2 separate regions of the Homo sapiens genome follow, and region 1 is linked to region 2. Evidence: promoter capture Hi-C in 16 types of primary human blood cells and fetal thymus (Javierre and others, 2016). All regions are on one chromosome and are shown on one strand. Each heading gives the region's core, a stretch centred on a gene start or on the middle of the fragment in contact. The rest is flanking DNA. Distances are from core to core; before and after follow the strand shown. Region 1 holds the start of WDR75 (WD repeat domain 75). Region 2 holds the start of NEMP2 (nuclear envelope integral membrane protein 2).

Region 1 (5,611 bases), core at 1,109-3,608, 1.1 Mb after region 2:
TTTTCCTGCCATCTCTTATACCCTATGCTGCAATTACACTGACTTTACATAGAAGGCTCAATCCCCCCAGTTTTCAAGGCCCCCAGATTTCAAGCTTGTTTGCCTGGCATTCCATCCCCCAGTATTACTGGTGAGGCAAACTCTTGCCATTGCTGCAAGAACCACTACTGAAGGTAAAACTGACTATGTAACTCCCTCTTCTATGCCATCACTGTACTTTATGTACATCAGCCTACCCAGCTCTCATTTCTCCACTCACCAACATGTATCATAGAGTTTTACAGTTTTCAGGTTAACATTATTGAAGAAACACAATCAAATTACAACTGATTACCGCCGTCCCCTTAAAGAATTAAAAAACCATTCTCTTTGGTCCAAACAACAACCAACAACTGGCTGCACGTGTCCTTTCCAACCTCATTTCCCACTACCTCCCTTAATATATACCATTCTTACTAGCTAACTGTACCAGCCTGTTCAACAGAAATCACTTCTGTCTTTCTTGCTTACACTGTCCTCCCCACCTGAAATGTCTTCTGTCCATATTCCCCACTTAAAATATCATCTAGGCCTAGCACAAATGTCATTTGCTCAGCAATCTTCTCCGTCCTTCTTAGTTTGGGAAGTAATCTCTTCTTATGAGCTCCTTCCTACAGGACCACAGTAAGAAAAATCTGTTACTGAGTATTCCTTTTCCTCACTAGACTGTAAGCTCCTCGAAGGCAGGATCAATATTAAAATTATCTTAGTTTTTGTCACTGCAGCATGTTATACATAATATATAGTTGACAAGTACTTAAAAAATGAATTGTTGGGCTTAGCAAATCAAACACACAATGGACCTCATTATAATGAATAAGGTATAAGAACAGTACTGGTTACATGGATATGAGTCCGAAGCGTCACAGTGTGACAGCCTCTTAAAGCCTGTTTCTTCCTTTGATTCATAAGATCAATGTCAACAAAGCCACAGGACTCATTTTTTTTTGGCTTCTAAGGCAATTTATAAAAGCTCTTTCAGTCATGCTTGCATTACCTTCAACAACTACCTGTCGTACACTCATATGCAGAATATTGTGGGGGTGGGCCGGGCACAGTTGCTCACTGTAATCGCTGCACTTTGGGAGGTTCAGGTGGGCAGATCACTTGAGGCCAGGAGTTCCAGGGCAGCCTGGCCAACATGGCGAAACCCTCTCTCTACTAAAAATACAAAAATTAGCGGGCGTGGTGGCCCGCGCTTATAATACTTGCTACTCAGGAGGCCGAGGCACCAGAATTGCTTGAACCAGGGAGGCGGAGGTTGCAATGAGCCTAGATTGAGCCACTGCACTCCAGCCTGGGTGACAGAGTGAGATTCTGCATCAAAAAAAAAAAAAAAAAAAAAAAAAAGAATATTGTGGAGGCTACAAACTTTCATAAAATACTATCTCTACTCTTCTAAGGCAGAAAGGGTTTTTTGATTTTATTAAGTGCCACCCTACCTAAAGTTATTTGAAAACCTGACAATACAGTAATAATGATTACAGCTACATACATTGAGCCATTATGTGCCGGGCATTGTTGTCTGTAGTTTTAACATATTGAGGCATTTAATCCTCCCAATAACCACGTGAGATGAACTAAATATTGTCCCCCTTTACAGATGATGGCAACTGAGGCAAAGATTAAGAAACTTACAAAGGTTTCATAATGTAAGAAGTGGATTTTGAAGCCAGGGAGTGGTTTGGTTTCCAGCTACACTGAGAAAAGAGACCAAGTCTTAGCGTATTTTTATCTCATAAAGAATCTAACATCTGTTTTCATGTAAAGTTCCGAAAAGACTGCACTATGCTTCATGCACTATGCTTCAGGAGTGAGGAGTGGGTAGAAAAAGCGGAATAGTTTTAGGTTTTAGTCACTCCAAAACATGATTCTGTACGAAAGAGTAGGTACTGCAAAGGTAGTGGCATACACATCCACCCCTGGACCATTTTCCAGCCGCCCGAACACCTTCCAGATCCTCGACACGGAGACCGGCTCCAGGGCCTTTATCTACCTGCAGGTAAACTGTCCAGGAATCGGGGGACGCAACCCAATCTGCAGTGGTAACGGGACCTCCCAGGTACCCTGGGGATCCCCCACAGGCGCGTGCTCTACCCAAAGCCGATATCCGCCAGGCGGGCGAGTCCGAACGCGACTGACAATTCCTTCTCCCCGACCCTCGAGAAACTCACGCCCCGCCCCTCAGCCGACAAAGCGCGGTGCCCCTCATACTTAGAATCTGCAGAGAACACAGCTCTCCTAAAGTTCAACTCGCTGCCGCCACAACGAACCACGCGGATGTTCTCCTCCTCCACCATCTTTGCGCAGTAGCGGAATGGCCAATCTCTGGTCCCGCCCTGAACTTCCTTCGTTGAGCCGGGTAATAAGGCTGTTCCCAGCCCACAGAACCCACCCCCGGGCCCTTCTAGGCCTGAGACTCGGTGGTAGGACTCCGCTTCCGTGCAGGCACCTTTTGTGTGGGCAATGTCAAACTAAGACACTTGTAAGAAAAGGTGAAAGCAAAACAGAGATTTAGAGACAATCAGTTTTTATTATATACCTATACACAATTATTTAATACAGACATATTTCTCTCAGGCCTTGTCAACCTGACTCTATGGCTTTTTCCGCCAGAAGGGAAAGGTGGCGTATAGTGTACCACGTGACCTCCAGTCGTCCCACCGGAGGCGTCGCTTTCTAGTGTCTGTGGTGTCGGCGCTGCAGGATGACGCGAGCCTCTCGCGTCCCTGGTTTTCTCGGTCGCAGCGTTGAGTTATTGGGTGGAAAGGTAGCTTTCTCTTCCTTGTACAGCTTTTTGTTCCTCTCATTAGCCGTTCTTCTGTTCTTGTGAACATCGCTTAGGTTACTACAGAATCTCCACAGTCCTAGGGCCTAGCTTTCTTCCTTTGGAAATCTGGCTCCTACTCCGGGATTCTGGTGCATCTTCCGCAGCGTTCAGTGTAGCTGCTCGGGCTAATCTGACATTCGGCCAGTCCCGCCAGGTTTCAGGGCGCTGGTCTCTGGTTTCCTGAGTTTTACCTTTTCCCATTAGTGAATAGAATCTGTGGGTTAGGAACCCCTAAAATCTCAACATGTTTATTTTTGCCAGTTTATCTCCAGTTTTCCTTTGTAAACTTACACGTATCATATTCTTGGACCCTGTATATTATGTTGCCTATTTTGATTTCGCTTCTTGATTTGTGGATTTACCACAAAATTACCAAGGTCTCAAATATAGTCACATGTCACATAAGGATCTTTCAATCAATGCATATAACATGGTGATTCCGTAAGATTATAATACTGTGTTTTTACTGTACCTTTTATGTGTTTAAATACACAAATACTATTCTGTTACAATTGCCTGCAATATTGAGTACAGTAACATGTTGTTCAGATTTGTAGCCTAGGAGCAATCAGCTATAACGTACAGCCTAGGTGTGTAGTAGGCTGTACCATCTAGGTTTGTGTAGGTACACTCTGTGATATTCACACAATGATGAAATCACCTAAAATGCATTTCTTAGAACATATCCCCATCATTAAGCCACACATGATTATACCTATAAGTTTATTTATGGTGGAGAAATACAATATTCACAAAGGTCAAGACATATCCTGGGACAGCACCACTGTAAAAATCAGGGATAAATTTACTTTTTACTGAGGAGTCTAGCTTATTAAAGTGCTCAAAACTTTATTATTTGGGGAGCCAGAACTAGAAAGGGAGATATTTAATAATTTTGGTTTATCTCAAGCTGTAACCAGCTTTCTCTTTCATGACTGTGATACCCTTTGTCACAGTGGATGGAGTGTAAAATATCACTTTTGATTCTGCAGCCTTAACCTCTTTTTGTTTAGTCTCTTGATGTATGCACAATAAATCTTTTAAAGACTTTGTTGGGTACTTTGTAACCTGATACAGGCTTTTCCTTAGGGCCTGAGCCAAGAAACAAAATAAATATTTTCACTCAAATTAGTGTGACTTTAGTTGTATGTTACTGTATGGTAACTTTAGATTTTTCAGAAAAGAATCAGAAATCCTGATATGGACAAAAACTAGCTGGATTGATAAATGTATAGGAGGATTATTTTACACAGAGTTTTAATTTACTGAAGTGCCCAGAAAGATAAGTCATTTGTATTTTGATTTCTTTTTACATAATTTTTAAGGAACCAATCCCACCTACAGCTGTTTAATTAATAGTGCGTTGTCTTTATCATGTAACAAGAAGGCTGAGGTAGGCAGAATAGGGCTAGTGCAGTGGATCATTCATGCCACCAGGGACCTGTGCTTTCTCTACTTTGTTCTTTGTGTTATTGTCCTTAACCATATTGGTTTTGTCCTTATGCTCACAGTTCATGTTCCTTTCAGTTAGAAGAAATAAGGGAATAGCAAGAAAGAGCATAGCCTATATACAGAAGGAAAAGGATTTTCCAGAAACACTTATTTGGCATCTTCCATCCAGGAAATATTTACTAAGTGCCTAGTATATGCCAGACATTCTTTCAGGCTCTGGGAATACTGGAGTGAGAAAAATAGTTAACAAAATCTGTATGTTACTGGACCTTACCTTATCATGGGAAGAAACAAAAACTTATTATACTTTTGATGTATTTATGTGCCAAGGGGAAACTCAAAGTAGAAAAGAAAGTGATTATAAGGGTTTGATCACCTTTATTATGGGTTTTCAGGGAAAGCCTTACTGAGAAGGTAACATTTGAAATAACCTGAAAAGGTTGAGAGTGTGAATAAGCATGGAGCTGTTTGGTGAAAGAGTCAGCCAGAGGAAAGAGTATTCCTTTCCATGTTCAAGATAAGTCAAGAGGCCAGTGTGGCTGGAGAATAATCATCAAGGGGGTATAGTAAAAGGTGAGGTCAGAGAGGTAATAAGAGGCCAGTTCATAGGGTCTCCTAGATCATTGTAACAGCTTTGGGTTTTACTCTGAAATTGAAGACAGTGTAGCCTTTGTGTTAAAAAGTGAAACGATTAGGCTAATTTTAAAAATTTACATACAATAAAATCTGCTTTCTTTGATATCTATGATGCACAAATTATCGTATCCACCATCACAAATAGGATACAGAAGAATTCCAGCACCTCAAAGAATTCCCCAGTATTTCTCCTTCCCCTCCCCAAGACCTATCCCCTGGCAACCACTAATGTTCTCCATCCCTAGTTTTGCCTTTTCCAGAAAGCCATGTATAAATGGTATCATATAGTATGTAACCTTTTCAGTCTAGCTTCTTTCAGTTAGCATATTGCATTTATGTTATGTGCATCAGTGCTTTATATTGCTGAGTGGTATTCCATTGTATGGCTATTTCACAGTTTATTTGTTGAATGTGTTTTACCCCCAGGTTTTAGAAATTATGCATAATACTTCTCTAAACATTCATATGTAGGTTTATGTGTGAACATAAGCTTTTATTTTTCTAGGATAAATACCAGCAAATGAGATTGCTCAAATCATAAGTGTATGTTTATTTAAGAAATTGCCAAACTCTTTTTTTCCCAGAGTTACTGTACTATTTTTGCATTTCCATAAGTAATGTATGAAAGTTTTAGTTACTTTACACCCTTGTCAG
Region 2 (5,462 bases), core at 2,495-4,994:
ATTAGTATATCAAAGAGATATTTGTATTCTCATGTTTACTGAAGCACTATTCACAATAGACAAAACATGGAATCAACCCAAGTGTCCATCAATGAGATGAATGGATTAAAAAATGTGGCATATATACACAATGGAATATTATTCAGCCATAAAAAAAATGAAATCCTATCATTTGCAGCAACATGGATGGAACTGGAGGTCACTATGCTAAGTGAAATAAGCCAAGCACAGAAAAACAAATATCACATGTTCTCATTTATATGTGGGAGCTAAAAAAAAACTGGATCTTATGAAGATAAAAAGTAGGTTGGTGGTTACCAGAGGTAAGGGGATGGTGGGAGGGGTTGAAGAGAGATTGCCTTTTTTTCCCTGTTTTAGTTTGGAATGCTAGAGTGGATTAGTCACTTTAGACCATCATGAGACAGGTTAGCTTTACCCTACTGTTGATGTGTTGTTGCCATGGTAATCCTGCTCAGTATAAAAGGAACCACAGTTTCAGACATTTGTTGTATGTGCTTGGCTGAGGAGCCAATGGGGTGAAGTTTCCTAGGTGCAGCCCATGATACTATTTTTCCCTCCTAGGCCTCTGAGCCTGTGATGGGAGGGGCTGCTGAGAAGGTCTCCGACATGCCCTGGAGACATTTTCCCCATAGTTTTGTTGATTAACATTCAGCTCCTTGTGACTTATGCAAACTTCTGCAGCTGGGTTGAATTTCTCTCCAGAAAATGGGTTTTCCTTTTCTATTGCATCGTCAGGCTGCAAATTTTCCAAACTTTCATGCTCTGCTTCCTCTTAAATGCTTTGCTGCTTAGAAATTTCTTCCACCAGATACCCTAAATCATCTCTCAAGTTCAAAGTTCCACAGATCCCATAATTTATAAAGGAAAGAGGTTTAATTGACTCACAGTTCTGCATGGCTGGGGAGGCCTCAGGAAACTTACAATCATGGTGGAAGGGGAAGCAAACATGTCCTTCTTCACAAGGCAGCAGGAGAGAAGTGCTGAGTGAAGGGGAAAAGCCCCTTATAAAACCGTCAGATTTCATGAGAACTCACTCACTAGCATAAGAATAACCCCCATGATTCAGTTACCTCCCACTGGGTCCCTCCCACGATGTGTGGGGATTATGGGAACTACAATTCAAATGAGATTTGGGTGGCGAGACAGCCAAACCATATCGACCTATATTCAAATTCACCGGTTCTTTCCTCAGCTATGTCCAGTCTGCTGATAAGCCCATTGAAAGAATTCTTCATTTCTGATACGGTGTTTTTAATTTCTAGCCTTTCCATTTCACTTTTTAAGTAATTTTCCTCTTTCTGCTGAAATTCTCTATATATATTCATGCATATTGTTCACCTTTTCCACTAGCTTTATAAGCATATTAATTCTAGCCCAATATATGGGTCATTTCTGAATCTGGTTCTGTTTTACCTCTTGATTTTTTCTCCTCTCTGCTTTTTTGGGTGTCTTTTAATTTTTGATCAAATGATGGATATCACATGTAGGAGAATAGTAACAACTGAGGTAAATAATATTAATGTCCAGAAATAAACATGCCTCTTCTGTCCAGTCAATAATGTGGGTAGTTGAGTCAATCTAGTCAGGAGTTGTGCTGAATTTGGGTTTTGTTGTTGTTATCCTTGCCTTCACTCTGTACCACAGGCTTCATTCAGATTCCTCTAGCAGGGGGTTACTATTGCATTGTTTTAGTGTGGAACCTAGAGTGCTGGGGAGTTTTTCTCAGTGTCCCTCACTCAGCTTTTAGCAGTGTTTGCATGCCTGTGTTACAGAGAGGTCTCTCCCCACTCTTTTTCCTCCTCACTAGTTGACTGGTGTTGTCACTGGTGCTTGGCTTGTAGTGGGGAAAAGGGGTTTTTCACACTCCTGGTCCTGCCTTGGTTTTAGGCAGGCCCTGTGCACCTGAACCTTAGATGTGGGGCTTTCCCAGTATTCCTGACACTTTCCCATTGCAGCCAAATCCTTCCTTTATCTGTGGTGAGTCTTGAGTGAGAGAGGGTTTCCCAGCAGTAGCCAACTTCAATTTTCTATTGGTTCAGGACACAGAGCCCTAGTGTTTCCTGCTCCTGCTGCTCCCCAAAGGGCAGAAGGTTTGTGCTTCTATCTCTTCTCCAGAAGCAGGGGGTCTTTGCCAGGATCCTGTTGGTGGTAAAGCTTCCTGCCCTTCCCCCAGTGGATAAGGTTTTCATACAGAAGAAAAGTTTGGAGAGGTTAAGTGGAATTTCATGATTGTCCCCCAGTGACAGAACTATCACCTCCTAACATTCTTGTTATCTCCGGAAAAATATTTATTGCTTATAGAGAAAAATGTGGTGTTTCAATATAGCTTCTTTACAGATATTTACTAAGGATCTGTGATATAAATAGCACTTTAAATATTTAGTACATTGCTGCCTGCCCTTTTGTTTCTCCACCAGATATATCTGTAGAAAATACATTCATCATTCAACAACCCACCTGTTTATTTTAGCTACTTTCCATAGTGCCATCCAAAATTAAACCAAATCAAAATGAATGTGGTTAGGTACAAAAGCTGTCTTGCAAGAAGCAAGTGCACACCGCACCTGGGAATACAGGAAAGAATTGGATCAGGGCTCTGCTGTTTCTCTGAAGACAGGCTTCACTCAAGTAATGATGGTTTATTTTTAAAAACCATCCCTCTGAAGAGTCCCTTACAAGGAAATTTCTTAACTTTTTAAAAGCCATACATGGTGTACACATGGTGCCAAGTGCTTAAGGGCAGTTGGTTAAACCTTTCTTTGAGGGCAAGGAAAGCCTAGTCCATCCTACTCAGACTTTTAGGAAAAATGAGGCTTATCTATTTTTAACAGGATAATTTCTGTTACTTTGGGTTCTCTAAGATATCTCACCAAAAGACCAGAATTAGAGAAGACTGTCCTAGTTAAGTATGGAATATTGAGTCAAATTAATGGGTTCCAGGTCCTGTGGAGGGAATGTTCTTTAAAATATATGTATATCTCCTAATTATCAGTATTAAGATCATTCAGGTTATATGTTAATTTAAAAATATATCTATTACATTAAGAAACTTTTTTTTAACATAAGGTAATTTTAAGAGAACCTTGTCATGTTGGTGAAGGAACATTTTACGAGCCCCTCTGTACTCTGAAATGCCGTGTCCGAGATTAGACATACAAGTCAGTGTTACTTAAGCGGCCAAATTTCCAATTTGTTATTGCTTGTTACCAAATGAAAGTAAAAAGATAAACAGAAAGGTAAAATAAAGAAACTGGCTTTTATGTATTTTATTCACAAAAAGGGCGTTTGCCGAAGGACCTTCCCATTCACGGGCTGTCACTCACAGGTGCTCGGAGAATTCAGCCTCCAAATCCGCAGGTCACAGGTCAGCCAAGTTTTAAGAAACACTCCGGGTTAGCGACTCTTCCTCTCTGCAACTCCCACCCCTGCGCCGAGGGCAGCGGGACACGGCCGGGCGGTCCCCAGGGGAAGATGAGGCCCTGGACGCCCCGCGTGCGCTGGAGGCCCGGAGGCCAAGGCCGAGGCCGAGGCCGAGGCCGGGAGCATGCCAGCGGGGTCGCGCCACCGAAAGCTCCTCCGGCCTGGGCCCGCCGTGCCCCGAGGCCGCGGGCGGAGGCTGGAGCAACGAGCCCAACTCTCCCTCCGCCCCGGGGAGGCGGGGTCTCCGCCTTTCCCGCGTTCGGGCCTCACCGCCCCCTCCGCCTTCTCTGAGCCCCCGCGCCACTTCCGCTCCTCGCAGCGGAGCCGGTCCCCTAGGGCTCGGGTCGCACGGAGCTGACCCCTAACGAAATGGGGCCGCGCCAAGGGCGGTGGTGGCTGCTGCTCTGGCTGCCGCCCCTGGCCACACTGCCCGTGCGCGGGGAGGCGGCGGCGGCAGCGTTATCAGGTAACCCGGGACCGGCGGCGGCGGCGCGCGCGTGCGTGCTCGCTCCCCGGCTTCGCGGCTGCCCTGAGGGCGCGCTCTTTGGCCCGGGCGGCACCGCGAGGCCCACTGGGGCGGGCGCTCCCTTTTCTCGCTTTGGGGTCTCCCGGGCAGGCCCCGCCCGCCCTTCCTGTCTTACTGGGCTTCCGTAGTCTCTCGCCTGGCAGTTGGACATTTTGTAATTTTAGAATTAGAAGCAACCGCGCGATCCAGTCGCCCAATTCCCTCGTTTTACAGAAGCAACCGAAACTCAGAGAGGTTTTGATTTGCCCAGGGTCACACAGCTTGTCACTGGCACAGCTGACCCTAGTCTCCAGACTTTCAGCACACGGCCTTTTGTACAGTACATCAATGCGTGTTGAAATCCTTGTTATTTCACTATCTCGCATTCCTTTGGTCTCAAGACTAGAGAAGGTAACAGCTTCAGCTTCAGAATCGGAGCGAAAATTCTTCTGCCCCTGACTGTTGTGACCTTGAGCGAGTAAACATAACGGTCCCACGTGAGCGGCAGGTAATGAGGCCTCACAAGGTTCTTGTGGTGTTCGTGTGCACAATGCCTGGCACACAGGAAGCAAGAACTGGTAGCGGCTGCTAGCTGTAGGGGCTCGCCACGGAGTGGGCTTAAGATGCTGGCACACTGGGGAAGGATCTGGGAAGGACACCTGGGGAAGTCAGAAACCTAGAGTTCCAACTCCAGACCTGCCGCTAACTTACCATGAGCTTCACATTTCTGTTTCTTTTTTTTTTTCCCCTCATAAAATCTTTTAAAAGATTTCCTGGGTGCACTGTCTACCAACTTCCCTTCCTTGCTTTGGCTACCCTGGTTTCAAGGGAGGCTGCCAAGTGTATTCTTTTAGCTGGGCATGGCCCTCCCTCCGGTTATACCGCGGTTTTTTATCTAAGGATGAATGAGAGACTGGATGTTGATGAGGTCATTATCAGATTCTGCCACAGCTCCCAACTGAGGGAATCTTGCAGTGAGTTATATGTTGGGGAAGTGTTGGATTCCAGTTTTCATTGAAGAGAAATTTTTTGAGTGTTCAGTATGTGCTAGGCAGTGTTATAAGTGCTTTAACTGCAGTATCTATCATATTTAATACCCATAGAAGCCCTATGCGGGAAAGCACCATTTTATACCCATTTTACAGATGAGAAAACGAAGGTTTGGTAGTAAGAAATACAACAATTTTATGCTGGTGAAAAAATAAAACACAAATCTGTCTAAGCAGGAAGGTTTCTGGGCATGGCAACAGCGAGAAAATTAGAAGTAGCCTTAGACCAGCACCCAGCACCTTGGGTTCTAGACCACTCATTCCTTCAGCCACAACTTGTGGTATAACCTTGGTCCAGGCACAGAGTCTTTATGGACCGTAGTTTTCTCTTGAGTAAAATGAAGATGTTTTTACTGAAGAGTTTCCAGTATTTTCCTCACCTCAGTGAACCTGGTGTTTTTAAAGTTTTTATGTTACCGCATTTAGTATAATAGTAACAGCCTGCTTCTCTGCTTTGTTAATCAAAG

The links. Contacts are between HindIII fragments. The CHiCAGO score rates a contact against its expected background, and 5 or more counts as called.
Region 1: the fragment with the promoter of WDR75 here is called in contact with the fragment with the promoter of NEMP2 in region 2 in 6 of 17 cell types (naive B cells, total B cells, fetal thymus and 3 more); the score reaches 9.0 in naive B cells.

What each region holds. Positions count from the first base shown.
Region 1 is chr2:189,438,221-189,443,831 of GRCh38, reverse strand. It overlaps WDR75 (WD repeat domain 75), which reads right to left and starts at 2,358. Exons shown (of 21, transcript NM_032168.3): 1 at 2,254-2,358. The coding sequence starts at 2,339. It also overlaps a transcript of COL5A2 not described here. RefSeq lists enhancers at 1,913-1,962, 1,983-2,212, 2,233-2,362, 2,623-2,842, 2,863-3,022 and 1 more. The HindIII fragment of the contact is 5,353 bases long and covers 97-5,449 here.
Region 2 is chr2:190,533,004-190,538,465 of GRCh38, reverse strand. NEMP2 (nuclear envelope integral membrane protein 2) reads left to right here and starts at 3,744. Exons shown (of 9, transcript NM_001142645.2): 1 at 3,744-3,907. The coding sequence starts at 3,811. NEMP2-DT (NEMP2 divergent transcript) reads right to left here and starts at 3,628. Exons shown (of 5, transcript NR_183903.1): 1 at 3,345-3,628. RefSeq lists a silencer at 3,431-4,080. The HindIII fragment of the contact is 6,238 bases long and covers 2,178-5,462 here.